Linked DNA regions of Homo sapiens: region 2 is linked to region 1. Evidence: promoter capture Hi-C in 16 types of primary human blood cells and fetal thymus (Javierre and others, 2016). All regions are on one chromosome and are shown on one strand. The core of a region is centred on a gene start or on the middle of the fragment in contact, and the rest is flanking DNA. Distances in the headings are between cores, read along the strand shown.

The links. The method cuts DNA at HindIII sites, captures the fragments that hold promoters and counts their contacts. A CHiCAGO score of 5 or more calls a contact.
Region 2: the fragment with the promoter of ZNF121 here is called in contact with the fragment with the promoter of PPAN in region 1 in 1 of 17 cell types (fetal thymus); the score reaches 6.1 in fetal thymus.

Annotation. Positions count from the first base shown.
Region 1 is chr19:10,103,883-10,108,285 of GRCh38, forward strand. It overlaps PPAN (peter pan homolog), which reads left to right and starts at 2,480. Exons shown (of 12, transcript NM_020230.7): 1 at 2,480-2,530; 2 at 2,619-2,789; 3 at 3,623-3,724; 4 at 3,922-3,972; 5 at 4,082-4,252. The coding sequence starts at 2,513. PPAN-P2RY11 (PPAN-P2RY11 readthrough) reads left to right here and starts at 2,480. Exons shown (of 13, transcript NM_001198690.2): 1 at 2,480-2,530; 2 at 2,619-2,789; 3 at 3,623-3,724; 4 at 3,922-3,972; 5 at 4,082-4,252. The coding sequence starts at 2,513. SNORD105 (small nucleolar RNA, C/D box 105) reads left to right here and starts at 3,769; the gene lies at 3,769-3,853. It also overlaps a transcript of ANGPTL6 not described here. RefSeq lists enhancers at 2,117-2,760, 2,357-2,406, 4,049-4,403 and a silencer at 2,627-2,676. The HindIII fragment of the contact is 12,960 bases long and covers 727-4,403 here.
Region 2 is chr19:9,583,167-9,587,232 of GRCh38, forward strand. ZNF121 (zinc finger protein 121) reads right to left here and starts at 1,338. Exons shown (of 4, transcript NM_001008727.5): 1 at 1,295-1,338. RefSeq lists enhancers at 1-102, 917-1,728. The HindIII fragment of the contact is 737 bases long and covers 1,035-1,771 here.

The DNA of each region.
Region 1 (4,403 bases), core at 1,230-3,729:
AGCAATTCGAGACCAGCCTGGCCAAGATGGTGAAACCCCGTCTCTACTAAAAATACAAAAATTTGCCGGGTGTGGTGGCCCATGCCTGTAATCCCAGCTACTCAGGAGGCTGAGGCAGGAGAATCGCTTGAACCCGGGGGGCGGAGGTTGCAGTGAGCCACTGCACTCCAGCCTGGGCGACAGAGTAAGACTCTGTCTCAAAAAAAAAAAAAAAAAAAAGAAAAGAAATAAAAATGTAAGATTTTGAGTCCACATAATTATTTGTTGAAAATAATACAAGTCAGTATAATAGAGAAGCATTCATATATTCAACACTGTGAGACAAAACACCAGAGACCTTGGATTTGATAATTGATCTGATATCCTGGACAGTATTCATATGTACAGTGATAGCTATCTTTCTTTGGTGTTTTTTTTGTTTTGTTTGTGTGTGTGGTGTGTGTGTGTGTGTGTGTGTGTGTGTGTAGTTTTATGGTTCTGAGTTGGTGGCCAGTAAGTTCCATGTAGTGTTGGCACTTATTTAATTAACTATTCATGATTTTGTTAATAGCTTGTTATAGAATTCAGGCATATATTTTTCAGCATAAGAAGCCAAGCACACCAGCTTGTCATTGGAGAGAATATATTAAGTGAGAAAAACATTCAGGAATCAGAGCTTTAACATGTTAAAGTTAGTGCTAAACATTGTCATATTGGATCTGAACCTATCCTAATATATAACCATAAAGCTTGACTTCTGCATTGGAACTATGCTTTCATAAATAAAGGATATCTCATTGATTAAAAAAAATTTTTAAAAAGACACAGCTGGAAACATAACAGTTTCAGGCAACAACTGTATGTTCCAAATATGGTCACACACACATCACAACTTAAAGGGAAATGGGGTGGGCTGAGTGGGTCTTTATCTGTGTGTCAGGCTTGTCCACATCCTGGTTCTTGTGATCACACAGTAGTGCACAGATACAAAACAGGTACACACAGTTGACACCCGGAAACCTATCCACCGCACCACAGAGGTCACCGTCTGTCTCCCACACACTCGGTCACATTTTCACACAAGTCAAATCACACGAGGACGGAACTGGGGGAAGTAACCATGCAGTCATTTCCCAGGGGTACAAAGAAACTCACATAGAGCCCCACAGAGCCCAGGCCCAGGGTCTGAGACCTGTCCAAAGGCCCCACCGACGACCAGCCACACGCCGGGAGAGTCACCTCCTTCCCCTGGTCTGCACCATCCTGAGCTCCCGAGTAACTCGAGTGGACTCCAGGGTTGAAAAAGGAAATGGTCGTCCCAGATCTGAGAGAGGCTGCCAGGCTGGGCTCTGGGCCTGGGTTGGGGCCCCCACACTGGGCCCCTCGGCCCCCCACCCTCAGCCCCCTCTGGCTTCCCCATTGGCAGTAGAGAGGGAGGGAACTTCATAAGTCACAGAGAGGGGCTGAAGAATACAGAGAGTCAGACAGATGGAGATGGGAGAGGCATAGGGAGATGGGAGAGACATAGGGAGATGGCAGAGAAAGGGAGAGACGGGGAGATGGGGAGAGACAGAGAGAGATGGGAAGATGGGGAGAGACCACAGGGAGGCAGATGAGAAGAAAGAAACAGGGATGGGGCCAGACACAGAGAAAGGAAACTTCTTTAGTTTCCATCTTCAGTTATAAATGATGAAAGAGACAACTGATGACAGAGACAAAGTTACAAGAGGGAGAAAGAGACAGGGGGAAGACGAGGGGGAGGGGAGACACATCTGGGGGAGAGGAGGAAGAATTGGGGTGCCAGAGAGAGCAAGGAGGGAGAGGAGGCCGATGGGGGAGGAGAGAGTAATGTTCAGCCCAGTGAGGGGGTGTCCCTTTCCCCCACTGCAAGGTTTTGGGGAAGAAGCCAGAGGCCTGAGGCCAAGACTGAGGCTTTGAGCGGAAAGAAGGAGGGGGCGAGTTATTCACGAAACGCCCGCCTTGCCCTGAGTTTCCAGAAGGTGATGTGGAGTTTCCATCCCTCAGCCTGTCTGCAGACAGGGGTACCCGGGGAGGACAGCTGGCCCAGAGGAGTTGCGAGACTAAAGTGAATGATTGCCACAGTCATTCCCTCCGGTGGCTTCTCCCCAAGTACTTGGCGCCAGAGCGCCCAACATTGTGCATACATGGTCGCTCCTAATTCGTGGGCCCGGGGGACATTATCAGCCTTACTTTGGGATATTTTAGGAGCCTCGGAATGCAGAAAGTGGTTTTAGCCCAGCTGGAGGAAATGGGCCGAAGCGGGATTCGAACCGGCGGATTCGTTTCTCTGCAGCCCGGAGCCGCGTAGCCCCGCCCCGGTCTCCCTAGAAACAGGCACCCGTGTCTCCATAGCAACCGCTCCATCTGATTGCCCCTCCCCGCTCCCAGAGGCCACCTAGTGCGCAGGCCCGCCTGATGTCGTCCCACGCCGTGCCGGCTCTCAGGCGCCGGAAGTGAGCTGCGCAGCGCCGGAAGCGGCGGACGCAGGAGGCCTCGTGGAGGACACAGCAGCATGGGACAGTCAGGGAGGGTAAGGCCCGGCAGCTTGGGAGGCAGGTGGCGCAGGTGGGGTCCCGGCCGAGGTCGCGGCGCTGACCCTTTGTCTCTCGTCGCCGCAGTCCCGGCACCAGAAGCGCGCCCGCGCCCAGGCGCAGCTCCGCAACCTCGAGGCCTATGCCGCGAACCCGCACTCGTTCGTGTTCACGCGAGGCTGCACGGGTCGCAACATCCGGCAGCTCAGCCTGGACGTGCGGCGGGTCATGGAGCCGCTCACTGCCAGCCGTCTGCAGGTTTGTACCCCACCCCCAGCCCGCCTCCACCCACCCTCGGCCTAGTCTTCGTAGCTGCAGTAATGGCTCCCGCTGTAAAACTGTGGGAGGACTTAAGTCTCCCCAGCTGGAAAAAAAGACCCTCATGGGGAGCATCATTTCTGCCTTTCAGGGCTTTTGCTGGGCTGGAGTGAGGGCGCGCAGCTTGGGAGATAGATAGTCGCCTAAGCCTGACAGTTAAGACTGGAATCTGGAGCCGGGCGTGGTGGCTCATGCCTGTATTCCCAGCATTTGGGGATGCTGATGCGGGAGGATCACTTGAGCCCAGGAATTCGAGACCAGCCTGAGCAGCATGGTGAAACCCCGTCTTTACAAAAAATAGAAAAATTAGTCGGATATGGTGTTGCGTGCCTGTAGTCCCGGCTACTCGGGAGGCTGAGGTGGGAGGATTCCTTGAGCCCAGGAAATTAAGGCTGTAGTGAATCGGGATCGTGCCACTTCACTCCAGTCTGGGCGACCGGAGGAGACCGTGTTAGAAAAAAAAAGACTAGAATCTGGAGGCAGCAAAGCAGGGTTGGAAACTGACTTCTCCCCAGTATCTGATGCAAGTTACTTAACCTCTCTGGGCCTGAGTTCGCTCATTTGTCAATGGGAAGATGCGCTGTGAGCAAGAGACAGAGTTAGAACTCAAATCTGCGTCCGACTGACTCTAAAGGCTAAGATCCTTTTGCTCCTCTGGGCTTGTTGAAAGGGTCAGATGCAAGACAGACCATAACAGGATCTGCACCGTCAGCTTATAGTTGTCACAACAAGGGATAAGCTATGTTTTCTTTTTTTCTTTTTGTCATTTCCAGGTTCGTAAGAAGAACTCGCTGAAGGACTGCGTGGCAGTGGCTGGGCCCCTCGGGGTCACACACTTTCTGATCCTGAGCAAAACAGAGACCAATGTCTACTTTGTGAGTAGACGCCCTCACCCTTCATCTCCCCCAGACCCCCCCTTCCCCTATCTCTCATGATGAACACATATGCCTCTGAGCTGCTGTGATTTCTGGCTTCAAAGTAAACGCTCTGAAGAAGAGATGGGGCAAAGGTGCCTACTCCGGGCACCTCTGCTAGACCCCTCCAGAGTCACTGATCTTTTCTTCTCCTGCAGAAGCTGATGCGCCTCCCAGGAGGCCCCACCTTGACCTTCCAGGTCAAGAAGGTGAGAGGGGTGGAGGTGGTACAAAGCCATGTGGGGTGGGAGCTGGACTTGGGGTTGTCCGCAGCCATGTGTGGTTGGTGGTCACCCCCTCCTCTCTCCTGTCCTACAGTACTCGCTGGTGCGTGATGTGGTCTCCTCACTGCGCCGGCACCGCATGCACGAGCAGCAGTTTGCCCACCCACCCCTCCTGGTACTCAACAGCTTTGGCCCCCATGGTATGCATGTGAAGCTCATGGCCACCATGTTCCAGAACCTGTTCCCCTCCATCAACGTGCACAAGGTGGGTCTGGCCTGGCGAGGTGGCAGGTATGGGGGGGTGCAGCGGATAGAGGTGCCACAGGCCCTCAGATGGATTGCTCACTCCTCCCAGCGCTGAGACTGGGAGCTCCTGGGTCTGCTGAGTCCTGAGGTCAAATCCCACTCCTGTGTCT
Region 2 (4,066 bases), core at 88-2,587, 520 kb before region 1:
AGATCGCGCCACTGCACTCCAGCCTGGGCGACAGAGCAAGACTCCGTCTGAAAAAAACAAACAAAAGCCTCCATCCTTTCTTCCTGTGGGCCCGTTTTGAAGCTCTGTGGGGGGGTACAGACCTAGGAACTTCAGATAAAGACAACAGCTGTGTATTATTGCCTTTCTTTCTTTTTTGAGACGGAGTTTCGCTCTCATCGCCCAGGCTGGAGTGCAGTGGCAGATCTCGGCTCACTGCAACCTCGGCCTCTCAGGTTCAAGCAATCCTCCTGCCTCAGCCTCCCAAGTAGCTAGGATTACAGGGGACTGCCACCAAGCCTGGCTTTTTTTTTTTTTTTTTTTTTTTTGTGTGTGTGAGACGGAGTCTCCCTCTTTTGCCCAGGCTGGAGTGCAGTGGCGCGATCTCGGCTCACTGCAAGCTCCGCCTCCCGGGTTCACGCCATTCTCCTGCCTCAGCCTCCCGAGTAGCTGGGACTACAGGCGCCCGCCATCGCGCCTGGCTAATTTTTTGTATTTTTAGTAGAGACAGGGTTTCACCATGTTGGCCAGGCTGGTCTCGAACTCCTGACCTCAGGTGATCTGCCCGCCTCGACCTCCCAAATGGCTGGGACTACAGGCGTGAGCCAGCGCGCCCAGCCTGCCTTTCTTTTGTAGAAAGGCTTGTAGCTGGTAACAACAAAAAACATTAAGTCCAAGAAAATAAAATAAGAAACTAAAGGCTCACAGTCTACACGTGTTCATATTTACATGCAGATATAGGCACACCCTAAACGACTATTTTTTTTCCATCAGAAAGTAATGTGTCAAAAATAAGAATAGGACATCAATGCCAGATTCTCAGACGAGACATTTTTAAGCAAAGAAATGGAAGTCAGAGCCCTCTTGAAACCAATTTTCTGCAGGTGTTCACCAGGAACATGCCGGAAACGCCAGGTTCCTGAGGCGCGGAAATGCGGGGCCGGAGCCAACCTGACTGGAACGGCAGAAATCCTTTTACTTTCAGAAAGAAAGAAACTCACAAAGGTTGCTTTCCAAGCTTTTGAAGAAGGGAGCACAGCGGATGAAACCACTCCAGAAAACGCGCGGAGTCGGGACAAACACACTTCCCGACCTGGCTCCTGACTGGGACCCACTGAGCCTGCGGCCTCTAGCCACTGGCCGCGCAAGGAGGACCGACAGCCCCTGGAGAAGAGAGTGAAACGAGGCGGATCGGAGAGGCTCCTGGGCGACAGCACCCAATCGTTCCTTTGCCGCCCCCCGCTATCTCCGGGATCCCCAAGCAGGCGGAACTCACCACAGCCAGGGTGGACTCCACCACGATAAAGGCGAAATGGCACTGACCATGCGGAGCCAGCGCCGGAAAAGATGGCGATTGTGCGCTGACGTCACTTCCGCTCCGAGCCTCGGGCCGGGCGGGGCTCCTGGGTTCGAGTTTCAGCCACATAGGACCCAGTCAAACACAGAAATTGTAGTTTCTTCCCGGGTGGGCGCGGACAGGCCCTTACTTGGGGGCGGTTTAGAGGTGGGACCCGGCTAGCCGGCGGTTCAGGTGGCCGGACCTGCTGGAAGGGCGGGCGTGGGGGATGGGACGCACCCCAGGGGATGCTCCTGCAGAGCTTTTCCCAGGTGGGCACAGTGGCTAAGGCCTGTAAGTCCAACACTTTGGGAGGCTAAGGCAGGTGGATAGCTTGAGTCCAAGAGTTCAAGACCAGCGTGGGCAAAATAGCAACATCCTTTATTAAAATATATATGTGTGTATACATATATATAAAGCTTGTTTGTATACATCTCATGTTCCTAGAGCCTTTCCATGATTCTTCCATATGGATAAAGCTGCCAGTGAATGGCATGGTCTATCTCTTCTATTCAGTCAGGCTTTCTGTAGGCCTTTATTTCTTCATTCTTTATTTTTTAGAACCTGCTGGTTCCATTGCGTTTTCTTTTTTCGTTTTTCTTTTTCATTTTTTATTTTTTTTTGAGACAGATCTCACTCTGTTGCCCAGGCTGGAGTGCAGTGGCATGACCTCGGCTCACTGTAACCTCTGCCCCCCGGGTTCAAGTGATTCTCCTGCCTCAACCTCCCGAGTAGCTGGGATTACAGATGTCTGCCTCCACGCCCAGCTAATTTTTGTACTTTTAGTAGAGAAGAGTTTCACCATGATGGCCAGACTGATCTCGAACTCCTGACCTCCAATGATCTGTCTCCCTCAGCTTCCCAAAGTGCTGGAATTATAGACATGAGCCACCGCACCCGGCCACGTTTTCAATATAATAATATTTTCTGTAAATCTTGATTTTTTTTTGTCTTCATCAAGTATGTATTTCTGGCTGGGTATGGTGGCTTATGCCTATAATCCCAGCAATTTGGGAGGCCAAGGGATCGTTTGAGGCCAGGAGTTTGAGACCAGCCTGGGCAATACAGCAAGACCCCGTCTCTGTTTAAAAAAAATTTTAAATATGTTTTTGTTTTTGTTTTGAGATGGAGTCTAGCTCTGTTGCCCAGGCTGGAGTGCAGTGGCACGATCTTGCTCACTGCAACCTCTGCCTCCCGGGTTCAAGCGATTCTTCTCTCTCAGCCTCCTGAGTAGCAGAGATTACAGGCAGGCGCCGCCATGCCCGGCTAATTTTTGTATTTTTAGTAAAGACAGGGTTTCACCATATTGGCCCAGTTGGTCTCGAACTCCTGACCTCATGATCCGCCTGCCTCACCTTTCCAAAGTGCTGGGATTACAGATGTGAGCCACCACGCCTGGCCAAAAACATGTATTTCTATTGTTATTTTTCTGATCTTCCCACATGGGCCAGGACCACATTTCCTACATTGTAAAATAGCACTGACACCAGACATTCTCCCCAGGTTTATTCAGAAATGTAACATAATCCCAGTAAAAATATTAAAAGTTTTTTCTGGAGTTAGGTACGTTGATACTAAAGTTTATGTGGAAGAATAAATATCTGATAATAACCAAGAAAACAAAAACAAAAGCAATGATGAGCAGCAGATGTTAAAACATACTATTAACAGTTTTCACACAAGGCAAATAATTAAATTATATTAAAATAAAAATAAATAAGACATACTATAAAGCCTCTATAATTAAAACTATGTGGTACTAGCACATGAAGCAGAAACAGACTAATAAAATATCTAAAAACAGACCCAAGAACATGTAGGAATTTGGTTCATAAATGTGGTATTTTGCCAGGCGCGGTGGCTCATACCTGTAATCCTAGCAATTTGGGAGGCTGAGGCGGGAGGATCACCTGAAGTCAGGAGTTCGAAACCAGCCTGTCCAACATGGTGAAACCCTGTCTCTAATAAAAATACAAAAATAAAATTAGCCAAGCATGGTGGTGGGCTTTCTGTAATCCCAGCTATTCGGGAGGCTGAGGCAGGAGAATCGCTGAAACCCAGAAGGCAGAGGTTGCAGTGAGCCGAGATCGCGCCACTGGACTCCAGCCTGGGCAACAAGAGTGAAAATCCATCTCAAAAAAAAAAAAAAAAGGTATTTCAGATCAATGAGGCAAAAAAAGCCATTTGTAATGGAAAGTCTAAGACAGCTGGGTAGCCATCAGAGAAAAGATGAAATTAAATCCATACTTCACAGCATATACAAGAATAAACTCTAAATGGACTAGGGATCTAAATGTGAAAAATAAAACCATATACGCATTCAGGGTGTAAGTGATTTCTTGGCTGAGTAAGGAAAAAGACGTGACCACAAGGCGGCAGTAGCACACAAGCTTCATTTGGGATGTGCTTTGACAGGTAAGGAGTGGCGGGAGGTAGCAAACAGCAAGAGAATATCCACAGGCTTCTACCTGTGGGTCGCTGCTCAGAAAGGGTGGAAAGGAAGAAAGACTCCCAGAGGAGAAGGGGAATCAAAGAGGGGGCTTATATGACTAAGTGACGATGCTCAGCAGCCTGGCAGCATATCTTCCAGTTAAAAAGTTCTGAAGGACAAGTCTGGCCAACATGGTGAAACTCCGCCTCTACTAAAAATACAAAAATTAGCCGGGCATGGTGGCGGGCGCCTGTAATCCCAGCTACTCGGGAGGATGAGGC